7 separate regions of the Homo sapiens genome follow, and regions 1, 3, 4, 5, 6 and 7 are each linked to region 2. Evidence: promoter capture Hi-C in 16 types of primary human blood cells and fetal thymus (Javierre and others, 2016). All regions are on one chromosome and are shown on one strand. The core of a region is centred on a gene start or on the middle of the fragment in contact, and the rest is flanking DNA. Distances in the headings are between cores, read along the strand shown. Region 1 has its middle 7.0 kb from the start of LINC00189. Region 2 holds the start of RWDD2B (RWD domain containing 2B). Region 3 overlaps LINC00189 (long intergenic non-protein coding RNA 189). Region 4 overlaps LINC00189 (long intergenic non-protein coding RNA 189). Region 5 overlaps LINC00189 (long intergenic non-protein coding RNA 189). Region 6 has its middle 42 kb from the start of HEMK2. Region 7 overlaps LINC00189 (long intergenic non-protein coding RNA 189).

The links. Contacts are between HindIII fragments. The CHiCAGO score rates a contact against its expected background, and 5 or more counts as called.
Region 1: a fragment that was not itself captured here is called in contact with the fragment with the promoter of RWDD2B in region 2 in 1 of 17 cell types (neutrophils); the score reaches 5.8 in neutrophils.
Region 3: a contact is called between a fragment that was not itself captured here and the fragment with the promoter of RWDD2B in region 2, in 1 of 17 cell types (neutrophils). The highest score is 5.5, in neutrophils.
Region 4: a fragment that was not itself captured here is called in contact with the fragment with the promoter of RWDD2B in region 2 in 1 of 17 cell types (naive B cells); the score reaches 5.5 in naive B cells.
Region 5: a fragment that was not itself captured here is called in contact with the fragment with the promoter of RWDD2B in region 2 in 3 of 17 cell types (naive B cells, neutrophils and activated CD4 T cells); the score reaches 9.4 in naive B cells.
Region 6: a fragment that was not itself captured here is called in contact with the fragment with the promoter of RWDD2B in region 2 in 1 of 17 cell types (non-activated CD4 T cells); the score reaches 6.3 in non-activated CD4 T cells.
Region 7: a fragment that was not itself captured here is called in contact with the fragment with the promoter of RWDD2B in region 2 in 1 of 17 cell types (naive B cells); the score reaches 5.4 in naive B cells.

What each region holds. Positions count from the first base shown.
Region 1 is chr21:29,185,136-29,187,835 of GRCh38, forward strand. No RefSeq gene overlaps it. Among named protein-coding and RNA genes, the nearest start is that of LINC00189, 7.0 kb to the right of the region's middle. The HindIII fragment of the contact is 2,536 bases long and covers 27-2,562 here.
Region 2 is chr21:29,018,067-29,020,766 of GRCh38, forward strand. It overlaps RWDD2B (RWD domain containing 2B), which reads right to left and starts at 1,283. Exons shown (of 5, transcript NM_016940.3): 1 at 1,145-1,283. The coding sequence starts at 1,211. LOC124905005 (a long non-coding RNA gene) reads left to right here. Exons shown (of 2, transcript XR_007067836.1): 1 at 1-181; 2 at 847-2,700. RefSeq lists an enhancer at 1,124-1,373. The HindIII fragment of the contact is 4,408 bases long and covers 238-2,700 here.
Region 3 is chr21:29,203,984-29,206,890 of GRCh38, forward strand. All of the region lies in intron 1 of LINC00189 (long intergenic non-protein coding RNA 189), which reads left to right. Among named protein-coding and RNA genes, the nearest start is that of LINC00189, 12 kb to the left of the region's middle. The HindIII fragment of the contact is 5,970 bases long and covers 1-2,907 here.
Region 4 is chr21:29,223,604-29,226,303 of GRCh38, forward strand. All of the region lies in intron 1 of LINC00189 (long intergenic non-protein coding RNA 189), which reads left to right. Among named protein-coding and RNA genes, the nearest start is that of LINC00189, 31 kb to the left of the region's middle. The HindIII fragment of the contact is 1,035 bases long and covers 891-1,925 here.
Region 5 is chr21:29,264,440-29,267,395 of GRCh38, forward strand. The region is part of intron 1 of LINC00189 (long intergenic non-protein coding RNA 189); the gene reads left to right. Among named protein-coding and RNA genes, the nearest start is that of BACH1, 33 kb to the right of the region's middle. The HindIII fragment of the contact is 2,482 bases long and covers 233-2,714 here.
Region 6 is chr21:28,841,616-28,844,315 of GRCh38, forward strand. It overlaps a transcript of HEMK2 not described here. Among named protein-coding and RNA genes, the nearest start is that of HEMK2, 42 kb to the right of the region's middle. The HindIII fragment of the contact is 2,217 bases long and covers 336-2,552 here.
Region 7 is chr21:29,241,216-29,243,915 of GRCh38, forward strand. All of the region lies in intron 1 of LINC00189 (long intergenic non-protein coding RNA 189), which reads left to right. Among named protein-coding and RNA genes, the nearest start is that of LINC00189, 49 kb to the left of the region's middle. The HindIII fragment of the contact is 1,421 bases long and covers 604-2,024 here.

The DNA of each region.
Region 1 (2,700 bases), core at 45-2,544, 170 kb after region 2:
TTGTTCACTTGATACTGGTTTTGCTAAGCTTAATATGAAGAATCAATTAAAACTAAATTATCATCTAAGCAGGGACAATCCTAGATTATTCAGAGAGAAAAATGAGGATAAAAACATTAGCTCTGTCTGCTTCTCAAGGTTATTTTTGGAAAGAAATGAAGTAATGTTGTGAAAGGCTGTGCAAATATTACTGCAAGGATACAAATTACCCTCCCTGTAGAGTGGATGGGATTTTCACAATTTTCTCCCTTTCTGGTCATAGGTATTTTATCTAATTTGTTGTCCAGTCTGTAATTCTACCCTGTTGTGTGCAGTGGGAGTGAAAGGGAGGTACATGAATTAGGATTAGAATTGCTTGTGAAGGACAGAAACCTGCCAAATAACGGTGCCTTAAACAAGGTGGAAGTTTCCTTTTCTCTCATGCAAAAGACTGGGATGTGTAGTCCTGGGCTGAAATAGAGGCTCTTCTCCATCAAATCTCCAAGGCTTCAAACTTCTTTGCCATTATTGAGCAATGTTTCTCAATCTCATGGTCCAAGATGGCGGTATATATATTCCAGGCAACCAGAGAAGGAAGGAACAAAGAAGTGGCTGAGGCAGTGGGGTGGCTGGCTGTCCTGGAAGCTGGCACAAGATGCTTTCAGTTACATGCTTGAAATGGTTAATTTTATGTATCAAGTTGACTGGGCCACAGGATGCCCAGATATTTGGTCAACCAGTATTCTGCATATGTCTGTGAGAGTATTTTTGGATGCGGATAACGATTGAATCGGCAGACTGAAAAAAGCATATTTTCCATCCTAATGTGGGTGGGCCTCATCCAATCTACTAAAGACCTGAAGAGAACAAAAGGTTGACCCTCCTACAAGTAAGAGAGAACTCCTCCTGCCTGACTGCCTTGACCCTGAGACATGGGCTCTTTTTTGCCTTCAGTCTCAAACTAAAATATTGGTCTCTTCCTGGATCTTGAGCCTGCCAGCCTTTGGATTGGAACTACACCATGGCTCTTCTGGGCCTCCTGCTTGCTGGCTGCAGATTTTGGTACCTGTCAGCCTTCATAATCTCATGAGTCAATTCCTTATTGTATATTGATATCTATCTATCTATCTATCTATCTATCTATCTATCTATCTATCATTGATAACCTCTCTATCTATTGGTTCTGTTTCTCTGGACAATGCTGACTAATACAATCCTATTGTCTGGAACTTAGTATGCAAGAAAGAGAGTGAGTATATGGGGTGAAATGTATAGGAGTGGAGCTAAAAGACTTTGCTGCAGGAGAGGAGTTCAAGTCATTGAGGGCAGTTATGAGTCAGCAATAATGTTGGTGCAGTATTTTATTTCAGGAGTCAATTAAAAGTATTGTCATTTTAGCAGTTTATGTCTTCCATTTATCAAATTGAGTATAGTGCCTTCCTCTGTCCTACCAGATGAAAGTTTATGAAAGATACTAATCATTTCCAAATTCCTTCATTTTTACTATCTATCCAGATTATTTTAAATACAGTATCTCTATAAATAGCACTTTGTCCATTGATATATGTTTGTGTTTACATGATTGTGTGTGTGTGTGTGTGTGTGTGCACGTGCAAAACATGGAAATAGGATATTTGGTCTACCTTAATCCCTGGAATGGAAGTAATGGTGATTACTTTTGTATAGCAAGTAATAAACTCCCAAATGGTTGGCATTTCCTTTTTCTTATACTAGACAGAGTCAAAGGTGAAGGATGATAAAGAAAAGTTTTGACAATAGTGCCAAATTACCTTCCTCAGTTCCTAGATTGGGGATTTTCAATCTAGGGGCAGATGTCACTATAATATAAGAGGTCTAGTCCTTGATTTCAGAAGCAGCTATCCAAGCTCTTATAAGAACTGATGATAGGAACTTGTCTCTCTTCTCAAGTTCTGTACAACAACCACTTATCCATAGCTCTTGATGGTTACTGCTCAGCCATTTCTTGCCAGCTGTTCTTTCCATGTGCAGGGAGAGCATGGGAGTATGGAGCCTCAGTTTGGTTTGCTATTGTCAGGACATCAAACTAATCATTAGGTAGAAAGTTGAATAAACATTTACTTTTGACTTTTAAATGGTTACTTCAGAAAGTTTTACTTAGCGGCAAGACCAACTACATAATTTGCGGGGCCCAGTGCAGTGTGAAAATTTGGGGTCCATTTTTGCAAAAAATATTAAGAATCTCAAGATAGTGACAGAGCTTTAAGGCCAATTCAGGCTCCTCCTGCGTGCAGGACTCTGTGTAACTACACAGGTAGCACAGCTAGGATGCAGACGCTGCTCAATGTTATACATTTAGTACTTTGATGTCCCTGAATTCCTTACAAAACTCTTACTTCCTCCCCTCCCCACCCAAGTCCCCAGCTCTTCTGTTTTTTTCCAAAACTTTACTTGTGTACAACACTATGAAACATGACAGGGTCTGATGAGAAAGTATTAATTGGCTTTAACCTAGTTTTTTTTCATTTTTATTTCTGAATATCAGCACTCATAGCCCTTTTCCCTATTTTCTGACTTACCCTAATACAACTCCATATCGTACAAAGCTTCATAGTCCTGTATATGCATGTGGTGAACATTTGTGTGGCTATTTGCAGCTGATGGATTAGTATCCATAAGTTGAGAGGATTCTTCAAAGGTCCTGAGATTGAATATGAAAAAATGACCTGTAAGAATTAAGTC
Region 2 (2,700 bases), core at 33-2,532:
GGAAAAGTGGGGTGACCAGATATAGACACCGCAATAACTAGGGAGAGATGATGGTGGCTTTGATAGGATTATAGTGGTCAAGTTGGTGAGCTTCAGGTTCTGGATACATGCAGAGAACAGAGGCAACAGGATTTACAGATGAATTACATGAGACACGGAAGAATGACTCCGGGGCTTTAAGGTACTGAAAGTATGGATCTGCCATTTATTTAGACGTTGATGGTCATGGGGAGCTGAAGCTTGGTTTTAGACACAAGTAATGAAGTGCCTACTAAGACACCTGTTAAATAGAGAGGTCTAGCAGGCAGTTAGATGTATAGTTTTGAAGTCTACGAGAGACTCAGCTAGATATATAATCTTGGGAGTCAACACTTATTTGGAACTATATATTTGTTTAAAGTCTCCCAGGGAGTGAGTAAAGTTGGGAGAGGGTGCTATTGAATTGGAGGTATCGAAGATGAAATGGGATTAGCAAAGAAGAACGGGACGGAGGGACTCTTGAACGGACAACTACGGGAGTGATGTCACAGGTCATTTATCTGCCAAATTATTTTCGCTTAAGAGATTTCAGTCCTTCCAAAAAACCCTCAAGATAATTTTATGATTCAAGATTTCAGCGAATGCTGTAAGATAATAGACTGTGGCCGGGCGCGATTGCTCACGCCTGTAATCCCAGCACTTTGGGAGGCAGAGGAAGGGGGACTGCTTGAGCCCAGGAGTTCAAGATCAGCCTGGGTAACATAGTAAGAGCTCGCCTTTATTATTTTTTTAAAAAATAAAATATATTTAAGAGAACGCAGACTGAAACTTGAGATTTCTGAGTGGAATAATATCTTTTCCTTGCAGATTTTTTTTTGAAGAACAGAGCAGGGTACCCCGCGACCCAAGCCAAGACGCTCTCAGGAAGAAAGCCCAGCACGCAGCCGCCCTCGCACCCTGATTGCCCCCGGGGCGAGGTCCCCGGCTGGAGCAGGGCTGCAGAAGCCGGGAAGCAACGCCGAGGACCGAGCCGACCGATGGGCGCATGCAGTGAGGGGAACCGGGGCCGCCATGCCGGGCACGTTCCCAAAGGGTTGCACTGGGCGCTGCAGCGTGGGAAACCCCCGTGGCGGTCACCACTGGCGCTAGCTGAGGCGAGACTCACCTTGAGCCGTGGCCCCCTCACTGCTGTAACCCGGGTTCCATGGCTGCATGGACAGCTCAATTTTCATCAGAAGGGAGCCTCAAAATTCTAGCATACTGCGACCCAAAACTTACAAACCGCCTCAGCTGGCGACCTACCGGAAAAAAAAAAAAAAAGCATGCGGCGCATGCGCGTCCAAGGCCGCGGACCGGAAGCTGGGGCTCGCCTGTTGGGAGCCGCGTCCGCCGGTGTTGGTGTCTGCACTTGGAAGGACGTAGGGAATGCGTTGTCCCTGCTAGGTACTTTTCAGTCGCAGAGTTCTCTTCTTCTTCTTTCTTTCTTCCTTTTTTTTTTTTTTGAGACGGAGTCTCGCTGTGTCTCTCAAGCTGGAGTGCAGTGGCGCGATCTCGGCTCACTGCAGCCTCCGCCTCCTGGGTTCAAGCGATTCTCCTGCCTCAGCCTCCCGAGTAGCTGGGATTACAGGCGCCCACCACCATGCCCAGATAATTTTTGTATTTTTCAGTAGAAATGGGGTTTCACCATGTTGGCCAGGCTGGTCTCGAACTCCTGACCTCAGGTGATCCACCGGCCTCGGCCTCCCACAGTGCTGGGATTACAGGCCTGAGCCACCGTGCCCGGCCGGAGTTTTTCTACTTAATACCTCTCCATGCCAACCCCGTTGTCATTTCCCAGCGGCCGCCTCTATAACGGGCACTTTTCAGGGACAAAGAATTGGTCCGTTAATGTTCCTCAAATTCGAACGCGCCTAGGAATAGTTCGGGGATCCTGTTGAAGTGCAGATCAGGATTCCGTAGGTAGGGGTGGGGTTCCAAATTCTACATTTCTAGTATCTTCCCACACGATGGTGATCCTCCTTGTCCCTGAATCATGGAGGAGGGCAATTAGGGAGATGTGAGCCTGGATGCATGGTGGCCTTGGCTATCTTAGGTGTTCTTGCCCATTAACCAAGCTGGGAGGAACCGTGTGAATGCATATCTATCCCTGTTAATAAAAGGGTAGTTTGAAGGAGATGCTGACAGGAGAATAATTAGAAATGTTTTTCTTCCCAATCCAACTATATGCAATACACTTTATAATATTCATTTTAGAAATGTCATAGATAAGATTTGTAAACATTGACATTTAGCAATACTAAATATCACTGCTAGGTCTCCCCTCCACTTTTTTTTTTTAAACAAAAATACGACAGTATGTATTGTAGGTCTTCATAAACTACGTCTTCTGCATAGTGTTTCATGAGCGTTTTTCAATGTCATAATTTATTTTTTCCTCCAACATTTATTATGAAAAAATTCAAGTGTAAAGCGAAGTCGAGAGAATTTTACAGTGGAGCAGACCTCAAGAGAAGGGGAAGGATGGATTTCCCCTCTATTTAGCAGTGTCTGAAGACATTTTGGGTTGTCACAACTGGAAGGATGGTATTGGCATGGGGTAGGTAGAGCACAGGGATGTTCCTCAACTTCCTACAATGAACAGGACATCCCCCGACAACAACAAATTTGCTGGTCCAAAATGTTGATAGTGTTGAGGTTGAAAAACACTGACCTGGAGAGTAC
Region 3 (2,907 bases), core at 192-2,691, 190 kb after region 2:
ATAGCTCACTGGTCTTACCAAGATTCAGCCATTTTTTCCTGACTAAACAGTCCTTGACATTTTGCAATCTTTTAGTTAATTTCCAGAGTTCTGAAAAAGTTAATTTTGACAATTTTTGCCACTGATCTCATTGCTTTTATGGATGAGCAGATTTTTGATGGTCTTTATTCTACCATTCAAGAAGTACTGTCTTTTTTAGCATGTTAAAAGGTAAGTTTTTTTAAAAAACATAAACCATGACACAAAAATTATAAAAATAGTAAATGAACACACGCCAAAGACTTTATTTAACTCTGTATTTATTGTGGAGCATATTAAGATACTATACATTCAAAAGAGAATTAAATACACATACACACAGAGGGAATTGAGAATGCTGAAATCATTTTACAGGCATATTGGGTTAATACCTACAGCCCAATAATCAATTGTATTTCACAGGGCCCAATTCACTTTCATTTCTTCAGGCAAGCATCATTTGTGTTATTAGTTTTTGACAATATTGAGAGTAGTGAAGCAGCTGAAAGGGAGTACAAGGCAAAGATACACTAGAAGGATAGACAGACAGAGTCCTGGTAATCTTTTTTCCCCACAATAAAGTTTTTGTAGTTTTTCCTGATAAGGGAATGGAGAAGAGAGTGTAGGGAAAAGCAGTATAACATTTTGAGACCCTGGACATGTGACTAAAACAGTGGAAAAGGACAGAGCAGAGTGCAGGGGTGTTCAAGGTAGCTGTTGCTGGCCTCGCCTTCAGTGATAAATTCTTCTCTATGCCCCGCTTCCTCATCTGTAAGGTAAAGATATGGATCAGCTGATTGCTAAGGCTCATCCCATTCCAGCTGTATTCAAATGTGGCCCCCAGAACTGCAGCATCAGTATCACCTGAGAACTTGTTAGAAATGCAGATCCTTAGGCCCCATCCCAGTTTTACTGAATTGGAAACTCCAGTGTAGATCTCAGCAAGCTCTCTAGGTGATTTTGATGCAGCTGAATTTTGAGAACCATTGTATATCAATTTTCTATGAGATGGAAATTTGATATTGATATGATATAGTTTGGCTGTGTTCCCATTCAAATCTCACCTTGAATTGTAATAACCCCTGCCGGGTGCCAGGTGGAGATAATTGAATCATAGGGTCAGTTTCCCTCCTACTGTACTTGTGGTAGTGAATAAGTCTCACGAGATCTGATGGTTTTATAAATGGGAGTTCCCCTGCACACAGTGTCTTGCCTGTCGCCGTGTAAGATGTGACTTTGCTCTTCACAGGCCTTCCACCATGATTGTGAGGCCTTCCTAGCCATGTGGAACTGTGAGTCAATTAAGCCTCTTTCCTTTATAAATTACCCAGTGTCATGTACATCTTTATTAGCAGCGTGAGAATAGACTAATACAGATATCAAGGAAACTCCATTAGCTATCATGACAGCATATTTAGAATTTTCTCCTAAACTTTGAAAGCATCAATTATTTCTGTGTGTAAAAGGAAAAAGTCAGTTTGGTTAAAGCTCTTTTTATTTTTTATATAAAAAAAGGAGTTCGGCCGGGCACGGTGGCTCACGCCTGTAATCCCAGCACTTTGGGAGGCCGAGGTGGGTGGATCATGAGGTCAGGAGATTGAGACCATCCTGGCTAACACGGTGAAACCCCGCCTCTACTAAAAATACAAAAAGTTAGCCGGGCGTGGTGGCGGGCGCCTGTAGTCCCAGCTACTCCGGAGGCTGAGGCAGGAGAATGGTGTGAACCCGGGTGGCGGAGCTTGCAGTGAGCCGAGATCGCACCACTTGCACTCCAGCCTGGGTGAAAGAGTGAGACTCCGTCTCGAAAAAAAAAAAAGAAAAAAAAGAATAAAAAGAGTTCATTTCTTCTTACTCAGAATTCATTATAGAGAGTAGCTTATCATTGCTCTATGTCCATTTGTTGTAGGCAAAACCTCAATTCACAATTTATTTTAACATAACCAGTCCAAAGAAAGGTCAGAGAGGTATTTTTTGTAGCTTTGAGTTTCATATATTTTATATAGTTAGAAACTTCTCTCCTAGTTATCATAGTGGGGAAGGGTGAGGTCAGACTTCCGAAGTCTTGTGCTGGAAAGTTTTTGGTCTTTCTCTTCACTCACAAAGGCAGTGATTACAGGACACTATGGGCTGTGCTTGGAAAACTTTTGTATAAACCTCAGTCCTTGGGTTGGGCACTTCTCTGCTTACTTATGATGAGCTATTCTGTTTGTTTGGTACACAGTAGACTGGTCCTGTTTGCCACTATCATTTCCTTACGGTTTACAGCTATGGTGCACCATTTAAAATGATGGTTTTCAGTATCCTAATTGTATGATGTGTCCTTTGTACATTCTCAGCATGATGCTCTTTCCAGCGTTTTCTACAGTAGCTGTTCTCTGCTCAACCCCATCTAATCAACTCGTGCAAAGGTGATCATTGTTTCTAAGTGGATGCCCTGGCCAGCTTTGAAAACTCTCTTAGCAATGACTTATATTTAAGCATAGGTCACTGATTACATTGGTCAAAGTAATATCTATGAAGTTAAGAACAATGAGACCTCAGAACTAGTAGTCAAAACCTCACTGTTCACAATGTAGGGAAGTTTCTCCAGCAGGTGTTAATAGGTTTACTACAAAGAAAGCATTGTGTCTGTGGTCAAATCTCTCAAAGACTTCTGATGTACATTCGTATCGAACACTCTGAGAGTCTTATAGTAAAGAAACATCTAACTGTGTGTAACTCACGTTTTCAAACTTATTTGAGCATGAAACATTTTTACCACTGGCATATCTAATCACATCCAGTTTGGGAAAGGATGTGTAGAATATTTGAGATGATCGTTAGAACTTGTTAAAAGGAGAGTTTCTTAAAAATCCAGGAGTGTGGTGCAATGCTGAGTCCTCAGAGCCT
Region 4 (2,700 bases), core at 158-2,657, 210 kb after region 2:
GTTGTTTATTGAGTTACAGGCACTTTCTTATAAAGCTCCAGTTGTTGCTTTTCTCAGAGAACTGGGAAGCCCCTTTCAATTTTGTTGTGTTCTGTGAACAGCTTTCCACCCCGAAGACTGGAAAATCTCTTTTCTAACCATGGGAGAAAAACTGAAGCAGAAACAGCAAGAAATACAGGTATTTTGACAAAAGGATTTTCTCATCCCAGTGCTTTCTTACTGCCTGAAATTCTAGTAGTTAACAATTCTTCAAGAGTCAGATACTTGTCACAGTGTGATATGGTTTGGGTCTGTGTCCCCACCCAAATCTTACCTTGAATTATAATCTGAATTGTAATTCCCACATGTTGAAGGAGGGAGCTAGTGGGAGATGATTGGATTATGGGGGCGGTTTCCACCATGCTGTACTCATGATAGTGAGTGAGTTCTCATGAGATCTGACGGTTTTATAAGTGGCAGTTTCCCCTGCGTGCTCCTCTCTTTCCTGCCACCGTGTAATACATACCTTGCTTCCCCTTCCCCTTCTGCCATGATTGTAAGTTTCCTGAGGCCTTTCCAGCCATGAGGAACTGTGAGTCAATTCAACCTCTTTTGTTTATAAATTACTCAGTCTCAGGTAGTATCTTTGTAGCACTGTGAGAACGGACTAATATACAATGACTCAGAAAGAAAAAGACATCTTTTGACTTTGGAGGGATATATTTTTAGGGTGAGATGATATAAATGGGGATCTCACGGTACCAGGATAGTTGACCTCAGTTGACCAAAGAGCCTAAGCTGAAAAACAAAAATAGTAGCTTATTTTTAAAAATAGCTAATGCTATAGAGGAAAGCAGTAAGTAACTTGGAGAAAAGGCAGAGAAAGCACAAACACGGTCAACATCTGGAGAAGCTTGAACCTCATATGGCAGATCATAATTGTAACACAATTGCTTATTTTATACCCTGAAAATTTTCAGTTCTAAATGAAATCTTGCTGGGTAAGAATATTTTTCAATGACTATTTTAAAGAAAAGCAATTCTGCCAGTTTTGTGGTATATGGTTATTAAAGAGTTAAAGAGCAACAGTTAAGTCATATTGTTAATACTGTGGCATAGAAAATAATCTAATCATGTCCTTTGCCCATTTCTAAATTGGATTAATTTTACTAATATATTTTATTTAACCCAATATATATAAATGTTTCATCATGTAATCAACATAAAATGTTAATGAGATTTTTACCTTTTTATTCATAAAGTCTTCAAAATTCAGGATGTATTTTATATTCGGAATGAAACTCAGTTTAAAGTGGTCACATTTCAAGTGCTCAAAACACAGATGTAGCTGTCATATTGAACAGCACACTGCAGATAGTTCTCATTTCTAGCTGGGTGTTTGGCTTTGCAGAAGTCTGAGGTCCGTATGGTTTTTTTTCTCCTTGTAGGTGATTAGCTTTCTGATACCTGAACAATTATTTTTCATTCTTACAATTCAATAACTTAACAAAGATACATATCAAAGAGGTCCATACTTAATTTTCATGTTCATTCACTGTGCCAATTGAGTTCTCATTTCAGGACTGTTACTTATTTTGTGATATATCTTTGTAATACTTTTCTTATTCCACTGTTGAGTTATTTTTTCTTCTGAGACATCAGTTAACATTTGTTGGGCTCTCTATTTTTGTCCTCCATATCTAGTAGTTTCTTTATGATTCTTTAAGCACCTCATGTTATTTGCATTACTGTAATTATCACAATCTTTTTCTAAATGTAAGTATATTGATTTTGTTTTCTGCTCTTTTGATCTTATTTAACTTGTGTTTTTAGCTTGCTTAATTTTGATGACATTATTTTGGTTCTTATTTCCTGTTTCATACTACAGCATTCTTTATATTCTAATCTTTTTGCTCTCATTTTGTCAAATTCAAGTGGCTATTGTAAGCTTGTCCTATTACTCAAAGCTTTTTTGAAAATGTTCCTTCTTACTGCAGTCGAGTCATATAAATGAATAAACAACAAAAATATACAAGAGAATTTTTTTAAAAAGAAAACTAAAGAAAATGTTCCTTCTGTTTCTTGTTTGCTTTAGTTTTTTTTCCCTTAAGATTAGGTTGTTTATTTGGTATCTAGCTAATGTTGGTCTTGTAAAATAAAGTGGGAAGTGTTTCCTCCTCTTCTAAGGAAGAGCTTATGTGGAATTTGTGCTATTTCTTTTTTAAATGTTTGGTAGAACTGATTGGTGAAATAATTTGTCCAAGAGATACCTTTTTCAGATGTTTAAACTATCAATTCAATTTCTTTAATAGTTTTAGGACTATCCAGGTTATCTATTTCATCTTAGGTAAGCTTTGGTATTTATTGATTTTGGAGAAATTGGTCCATTTTATCTCAGTTGTCAAATGTATGTGTATAGAATTACTTGTAGCCATTATATATTATCTTTTTTTCACATCCATGGGGTTTGTAGTCATATATTCTCTTTCACTCCTGATCTTGCCAAGTCAGTTCCAAATAATAGAAATTTTCAGTTGATAGAATTCCAAGAAAATTAGATTTTATCTCAAAGAATTCCAAGAAAATTAGATTTTATCTCAAAGTAAAACAAAATAAGACCTCTAGATCTTGAAATCGATGTATCTCAAGTTAATATGTTCAAAATGAATTTCATCATCTGTTTTCCAATTCCTTTTCCTGTTACATACCTTTCTTTTTCAA
Region 5 (2,956 bases), core at 224-2,723, 250 kb after region 2:
TATATGTACTATATTTATTAAGCCAAGATTATCTGGTAAGAAAACATATTTCATTTTATAAATGTCACAATTCATGACAGATACTTTCATAGTTAATGAGAGTTTACAGTACATGTGACTATTTAGATAAGGCACTTATTTTTGACACTGTGTTTTATGTTACAAGTATTGTAGTTTCACAACACGCAATAAGGTGGTCCCCTGACCTTGCTATGCCAAGGAATCTGAAATAAGCTTGACCTTGCTTTATAATCCTATTCTTCTCTCCATCTCCTACTTTAAAAGAAGGATTACACTGCATTACAATAAAATGAACTGATATATAAAGAGTACATAGCCAGGTGGTGGCACATAGAAAATGATCAGTGGACATTATCTGCTCTTACTGTTGTTAGTGGAAGAGGTATGTGTCTTTGAAATATGCTGGATGCTTTGCTGAGTCGTTTATAGTGATCACATCTACTCCTCAAAAGAACCATGGGAAATAGGTGACATCATTTCCATTTCTAGATGAAGAAACTGGGCTCAGAGAAGTTCAGAATTTGTCCTAGAGAGTGGGGGGCAGAGCCAGCATTTAAGCCAGACTGGTCCAATTTTGAAGTACTTCCACTCCTCAGTGATGATTTCTGTACTGCCAAAGAAGACCAAGCAGAGGTTAGTATGGTGGGGAGGGGTAGGGTGTGTGCATAGAAAGATGTTCTCCAGTTCTTTCTCCAGTTACCAGGTTGTGGATTGAATAATGTGATTAATATACTGGAATTCATTTTGTATATAGTTACATATATAATATATATTATATATTTATATGTATACATCTTTTCCCAATGAAAGAAAAACATACATTTTACTTAAATTTCCACATCTATTTTTCCTATTATTTCATTATAAATGTGTTCATTAAATATTCTTTGATCACAAGATTTAACACATCACATGTAAACAGCAACAAACCTGTAAACAAGAACTATTTAAGAGGTAAATTTAGGTCGGTGTGGTGGCTCACGCCTGTAATCGCAACACTTTGGGAGGCCAAGGTAGGTGGATCACTTGAGGTCAGGAGTTCGAGACCAGCCTGGCCAACATGGTGAAACCCCATCTGTACTAAAAATTCAAAAATTAGCTGGGTGTGATGGCAGGTGCTGTAATCCCAGCTACTCAGGAGGGTGAGGCAGGGGAATCACTTGAACCCAGGAGGTGGAGGTTGCGGTGAGCTGAGATCACGCCAGCCTGGGTGACAGAGGGAGACTCTGCCTCAAGAGAAAAAAAAAGAGGTAAATGTAATACTTTTTGATTAACATGTGATACGGTTTGACTTTGTCCTCATCCAAATCTCTCCTTGAATTGTAATAATCCCCATGTGTCAAGGCCAGGCCAGGTGAAGATAATTGAATGATGGGGGCGGGGGTTTCCCCCATGCTGTTCTTGTTGTAGGGAATAAATCTCACGAGATCTGATGGTTTTACAAAGGGGAGTTCCCCTGCACATGCCCTCTTGTCTACTGCCACGTAAGATGTGTCTTTGTTCTTCCTCCACCCTTCTGCCATGATTGTGAGGCTTCCCCAGCAATATGGAATTGTGAGTCAATTAAACCTCTTTCCTTTATAAATTACCCAGTCTTAGGTATGTCTTTATTAGCAGCATGAGAACAGACTAATACAACATATTAAAACCTCACTGATGTAAATCCTAGACATTTTGATTTGAAATGAAACTTCCAACTTCAAACCTGACTGCATGTTAGGTTTGCCTGGCAGCTCTGGGACTATGGGGACAACAACCATCACCACCACCCCATGCCTGGGACTCAGCCGCAAAGATGGTGTTTTAACTGATGGGGGAGTTGATACTGTTTGAAACCTCCCCAGGGGATTCTAATGAGTCATCAGGGCTGGGAATCACTGGCCTAAAAAAGTAGAAGCACCTACTTGAATGGGACAATAAATACTTGCTGAAACAGATTAAGTACTCAGTACTTTAAAACCAATGCCCTTGGTCGGGTGTGGTGGCTTGTTTCTGTAATCCCAGCACTTCAGGAAGCTGAGGCAGGTTGATCACTTGAGATCAGGAGTTCGAGACCAGCCTGGCCAACATGGTGGAACCCTGTCTCTACTAAAAATACAAAAATTAGCTGGGCCTGGTGGCGGACACCTGTAGTCCCAACTTCTCAGGAGGCTGAGGCAGGAGAGTCACTTGAACCTGGGAGGCAGAGGTTGCAGTGAGCCAAGATCACACCACTGTGCTCCAGCTGGGGTGACAGAGTGAGACTCTGTCTCAAAAAAAAAAAAATCAATGCTCTCATCTGCACAGCATCCATGAAAGAATTTTCCTTTGGTCTTTAACCTTCCTCAGATGCTATCTCCTTCTCCAGACCTATTTGTCTCTAAAGAGTAGAGGCTGCTCAAAGTTTCTATTTCCTCCACTTCTTAATCCATCTCAAACAACAGTCATGATCTCCATCCTCCTGCAACTGATCTTATCAAGCCTCAATCAGTAATTCATTTACTGTATCTTAATATGTAATTTATAACTAATATATAACATCAATGTATATTGAAGACCTACCTGAAGACTGCAGTGGGTCATAAGAGGGCTATTGAATGCCTGAGTCTCTAGGAATTGATAAGATTATAGAGTTGAACAAAGATTTTAAAATTACCTTGTCCTGTGCTTCTCAAGATAATTTCATTTAGAGTGACACATCCCTTTATTTGGGAAGCTTATTTGAAATGTCAGCAGGTAATAAAAGAGAGGGTGGGGCTACTTTGTGTGGTATTGATGGTGGGGACAGAGCCCTGATTGCTGGGTTCTGTCCACCTTTCTGTCCACTGTTCCCTCAGAGATAGCCCTTAGAGATCTCCACAGACCCTCTGCATCTCTGCAAAGGACAGTTTGGAAACTACCCATCTAGTCTTGATCCCTTTCAGATACAACACAGGATATGTCTGCCACCTTAAGA
Region 6 (2,700 bases), core at 194-2,693, 180 kb before region 2:
ATGAGGACACAAAGGCATAAGAATTATACGATGGACTTTAGGGAGTTGCGGGGAAGAGTGGGAGGGGATGAGGGATAAATAACTACAAATATGGTGCAGTGTATACTGCTCAGGTGCACCAAAATCTCACAAAATCACCACTAAAGAACTTACTCATGTAACCAAATACCACCTGTACCCCAATAATTTATGGAAAAATAAAAAATAAAAACAAAAACCCTTAGACTCCTAGGCTAGGAGAGCCCTGCTGAAAGACAACATTTCACACTTGTCTCAACTAATTGCTGGAGGAATTAGGCACATTCTGTGCAACTCCACTGGGAGAGACTCTTGGAAGCTTGAGGCTGCTTTCCTTTGGATTTAGTCACATGTGCCTATTCCCTTTGCTGATTTTGCTGTATATCTTTTCACTACGATAAACTGTAACTGTAACTATTACAACTTTTGAGTTCTATGAGTCCTTCTAGAAAGTCACTGAACCTGGGGTGGTCTTAGGGATAGATGCCTGACACACTATCCCAAAGGATAATTGTGAAGATTAAACAGCAACATGCATATCAAGCACTTGACATAATGGCTAGCCTAAAGTGTTCCATGGGTGTTATTGGCATCATTATTATATATTACATTATTTATTCATATAAAATTATATCTTATTATATCACATGTATAACTACATAACTCAGTTTTCTATACACTATTAATAAAAGATTGAGATAATTCTTTCTTGTCTTATTTTTCCTTAAACATTTACCTCTCTCACCCTTTGTTGATTTAGCTGTATTTCTACTGAACACATGAACTAATATCCTAACTTCTCAGACTATCAACAGATGCCATGAAATAATTGGATGCTTGTTAGCAACTGGCCTGATAGTATTTGATTGTGCTTTCTACTGTTCCTTCCTGATGACTCGTAGAGGGTAGACCCAGACGATACCTGGAAATTATTTGCTCATGTGGCAGTCACTGTTGATTGCCTACCCAAAGCCATTACTCCTTCTCCCCACCTAACAGAAGCCGAGTTTTGTTCAGCAACAACGTGCCCAGTCACAGAGGATAAATCTTGGCTAGTCTAAGCTAGTGCTAGTAGTCGCATTTCCTTTTGCCAATGATTTATTTCAGGTGATCATGGGACCTCGTTATGAATGATGAGACAAAGGTAGAATATCCCAGTAAGCAACTGGGAAGATTTCCTCCTCTGATTGTATACAGAGAATCAGGTAGATATTAGTTAGGAGGGTCCCTTTGCCTAACTTTGGAGATGGATATGTAAAAACCTGCTGCTAAGTGTGCAGTTGTTATCCCAAGTCTACAATGGGAGATAGCATCAAATTACTGGAGATGGAAGAATGGGAAGATAGACAGTTTGGTCTTGATAAAATTGTTGAACTGTAACTTTGTAACTACTTATATTTAGACTTCCTTTAAATAAGAAAAGTAAATGTTCATTTTGTCTAGTCACTATTGGCTGAGTCTTCTCTTACATGAGACTAATAGTATCCTCATGAACTTGAAACACATGTGGTTTCAACACGCGTTTTGTAAAGACAAATTATGCACAGCCCTGTATTAGTCCATTTTCACACTGCTATAAAGATAGTACCTGAGACTAGGCAATTTGTAAAGGAAAAAGGTTTACTTGACTCACAGTTCTGCATGGCTGAGGAGGCCTGAGGAAACTTACAATCATGGCAAAGGCGAAGGGGAAGAAAGGCAATCATGAGAACTCACTTGCTATCCTAGAACAGCATGGGGGAAACAACCCCCATGATCCAATTACCTCCCACGAGGTCCCTCCCTTGACATGTGGTGATTACAATTTGGATTACAATCCAAAACCATATTAAGTCCTTATCCGGGAATTCTGAAAAGGTAGCACATGTGCAATTCAAACTTAATGATCTTCTTCCAAAAAAGACATACTCAGTAATAACAAACTTCAATCAGAACCCAATTATTTTTGCAAAGAAAGGTAGGAAGATAGAACCAGAAAATTCTTTAGTCTTTTAAAGCATGTCATGGTCTCCTTTCAGCTTAAAGACCTTCTTGATTAAACATGAAATTTTCTGTGCAGATAAGCCAGTTCTGTGGATGTGAAGTCTGAGGAGTATATTTTATGTTTATAATGTGGATATTACTATTCATGGTTGGGAAATGAGAAATGAACAGTATTTTACATGCCATTATCCTTTGCCAATTTCTCTGAAGGGCATCCAGCTTCACATAGTAGTAAAATGTGTAATTCAGGACTGGGAAGCCGTATAATATGAAATTAGTGTTTTTAAGAAATTTTAAGGGAATCTGAATTTTAAAATGCTCAAAAATAAAACATATATTTATATGCACTATTAGAGCACATTATAAGTGTGACTGTTTTTAAGTCAAAGTTTTAATAATCTATTGCTTATTTAGGGATTATATAATACCTACTTCCAATATGTGAAGCAATAAGAGAAATGACAAAGGAATTATATATATATACACATTTAAACGTAATACATATACACAAATTTCAAGCATATATATCCTCCATAGTGGTCAATTTGGTAAGCTTTAATTGTTTGAATTTCTCATTAGGAATTTTATTAACAGTCAATACCATCTGATTTTAAATATCCTCAACAGTGGCTGATGGTCATTCTTTCAAAGCAGAGAAGCTATCCATCTGCTTTTTTCTCCACTCTTCATATTAGCCTA
Region 7 (2,700 bases), core at 64-2,563, 220 kb after region 2:
TTCCCTCTTTTGAAGACTCAGTGAGCAGCCTTGCAGCTGCTGCTGTGTAGGCCTTTCACAGTCAGGTTGCCTGGATTTTCTGCCCATGCATCTGACAGTAGCTCTTCTCCCAGCCATAGGTTACTTGTTTTCAAAACAAACACAGGCTTTTCTTTATAAGTTTTTTTCTGGTGCTCACCTCTCTCATCCCCTATACCTCTCTTCAACCTAGGCTCTTCCAAAAAGTACATCAAGCAGGTGAAGTTTACACCTCTAACTTCAGAGAAGTGGTTATTGGTACCATAAAAACCCAAAGCATGGCCAGGAACAGTGGCTCACACCTGTAATCCCAGCAATTTGGGAGGTTGAGGTGGGCAGGTCACCTGAGGTCAGGAGTTCGACACTAGCCTGGCAAACATGGTGAAACCCCGTCTCTACTAAAAATGCAAAAATTAGCTGGGCATGGTGGCGGGTGCCTGTAATCTCAGCTACTCGGGAGGCTGAGGCAGGAGAATCACTTAAACCCAGGAGGCAGAGGTTGCAGTGAGCTGAGATGGTGCCATTGCACTCCAGCCTGGGCAACAAGAGCGAAGCTCCATTTCAAAAAACAGACAAAAAACCCAAAGCTTGGCTGGTCTGCCTCATCTTATTTCCCAATATTTTCCACTTAGTTTCCCTATGAATCTCTTAGATCCTTTAGTGTCTTACTTCTACCCCACCAACAAAAGGAGTAGTGTGTATGAATTAGGATTTTACAATATAAATATACATTTACAGTAACATACTTATAATGAGGATGTTTTTCTCTAAAAAGAACTATGCTAACATACTTTATATAATTGCAATGAATTTGTTTTTCACTGTTTATAACTTCTTAAAAAATATACTGGGCATGAGAAGACCTATCCAAAAGCAGGAAAATCTTATTTTAAGTGCTGCAATTGTGTCAGTTATGTCATGAAATCATAAATGGTGGCTATCTGTCAAAATGTGCTATGTTTCCTTAGACATAAGGAAGACAATGAATTTTCAAGATAACTCACTGATGTGTCTTTGTTAAGCTGACATATTTGGAAGAATTCCCAAATAATTTTCATGGTCAGAGAGATTCTCATTTTGCAAGCTACCCCTAAGCAAGAGGCACTGGGGACTTTGCCCAACCAGTAATATTCAGATGAGTTGCAGATTGTTTAAGTAGCTAAATCATGTTAATCCTCTTTCCATGTATGGCAGCATTTATTTAAAATTATTTATTGAATGCATTCTATGTGCCAGGCCCATTTCCAAGTACTGGATATTCCTGGTGAACAAATCCTACACATATTACTACCTTTAGGGAGCTTACACTCTGGCATTAGGCATCAAAACAACACATTCTGGCAAATGAGGCTGGTAACTTTTAAGGATTAAATAGCTTAGAGTTATCAGAGTGTTGACCAGGCATGGTGGCTCATGCCTGTAATCCCAACACTTTGGGAGGCTGAAGTGGGCAGATCAATGGAGGTCTGGAATTTGATACAAGCCTGGCCAACATGGTGAAACCCGGTCTCTATTAAAAATACAAATATTAGCTGGGCGTGGTAGCAGGCACCTGTAATCCCAGCTACTTGGGAGGTTAAGGCAGGAGAATGGCTTGAACCCGGGAGGCAGAGGTTGCAGTGAACTGAGATCTAGCCATTGCTCTCCAGCCTGGGCAATAAGAGTGAAACTCTGTTTCAAAAAAAAAAATTATCAGAGAGTAGATTTATGTATTAAGCATCTTTCAAAAGGCCTTACACAGTTACAGTTTACATTATTAATGTACTACATTTCTTGGCAAATAATTTATTGCTGTTGGTCTTCCAGTCCCCATTCTATAAGATACATATGCAAAGTCAGGAAACAAAGTAAACTTTTCTTAAAACAGTATGTTAGTTATCTTCAAATAATATGCTTTCAGTTGAAGTGGATTTGCTCTAGATTTAAAATAATGGGCCTAATTGCTGATCTAGAAAAAAGTAACTTATAAAACATATTGAGCATCCAAAAATTCTGGCAGCATAGGAAGCTTACTATATTCATTATACTTTTGAAGGGGAATGGAAGTTAAAGAAATGCAGATTATGTTGTTTGAAAATTATCTGAGTCCATTTGTGTTGCTATAAAGGAATATCTGTGACTGGGTAATTTATAAAGAAAAGAGGTTTATTTGGCGCACACTTCTGTAGCCCATACAAGAAGCATGGCACCAACATCTGCATCTGGTGAGGGTCTCAGGCTGCTTTCACTCATGGTGGAAGGTGAAGGGAAGTCAGTGTGTGCAGAAATCATTCAGCAAGAGAAGAAGCAAGAGAGGCAGGAGGTGCCAGGCTCTTTTTAACAATCAGCTCTCACAGGAACTGATAGAGCAAGAACTCACTCATTACCATAAGGATAGCACCAAGCCATTCATGAGAAATTCACCCCTATGGCCTAAACACGTCCCCTTAGGCCTCATCTCCAACACTGGGGATCAAAGCTCAATGTGAGGTTTGGGGAGACAAACACCCAAACCATAGCAAACATATAAGTGACATACTGTTAAAAGATGGATTTATCCTATGTTTCTTTTTCTTTTTTCTTTCTTTTTTTTTTTGAGAAGGAGCCTTACTCTGTTGCCCAGTCTGGAGTGCAGTGGCATGATCTTAGCTCACTGCAACCTCCACCTCCCGGGTTCAAGCAATTCTTCTGCTTCAGCCTCCT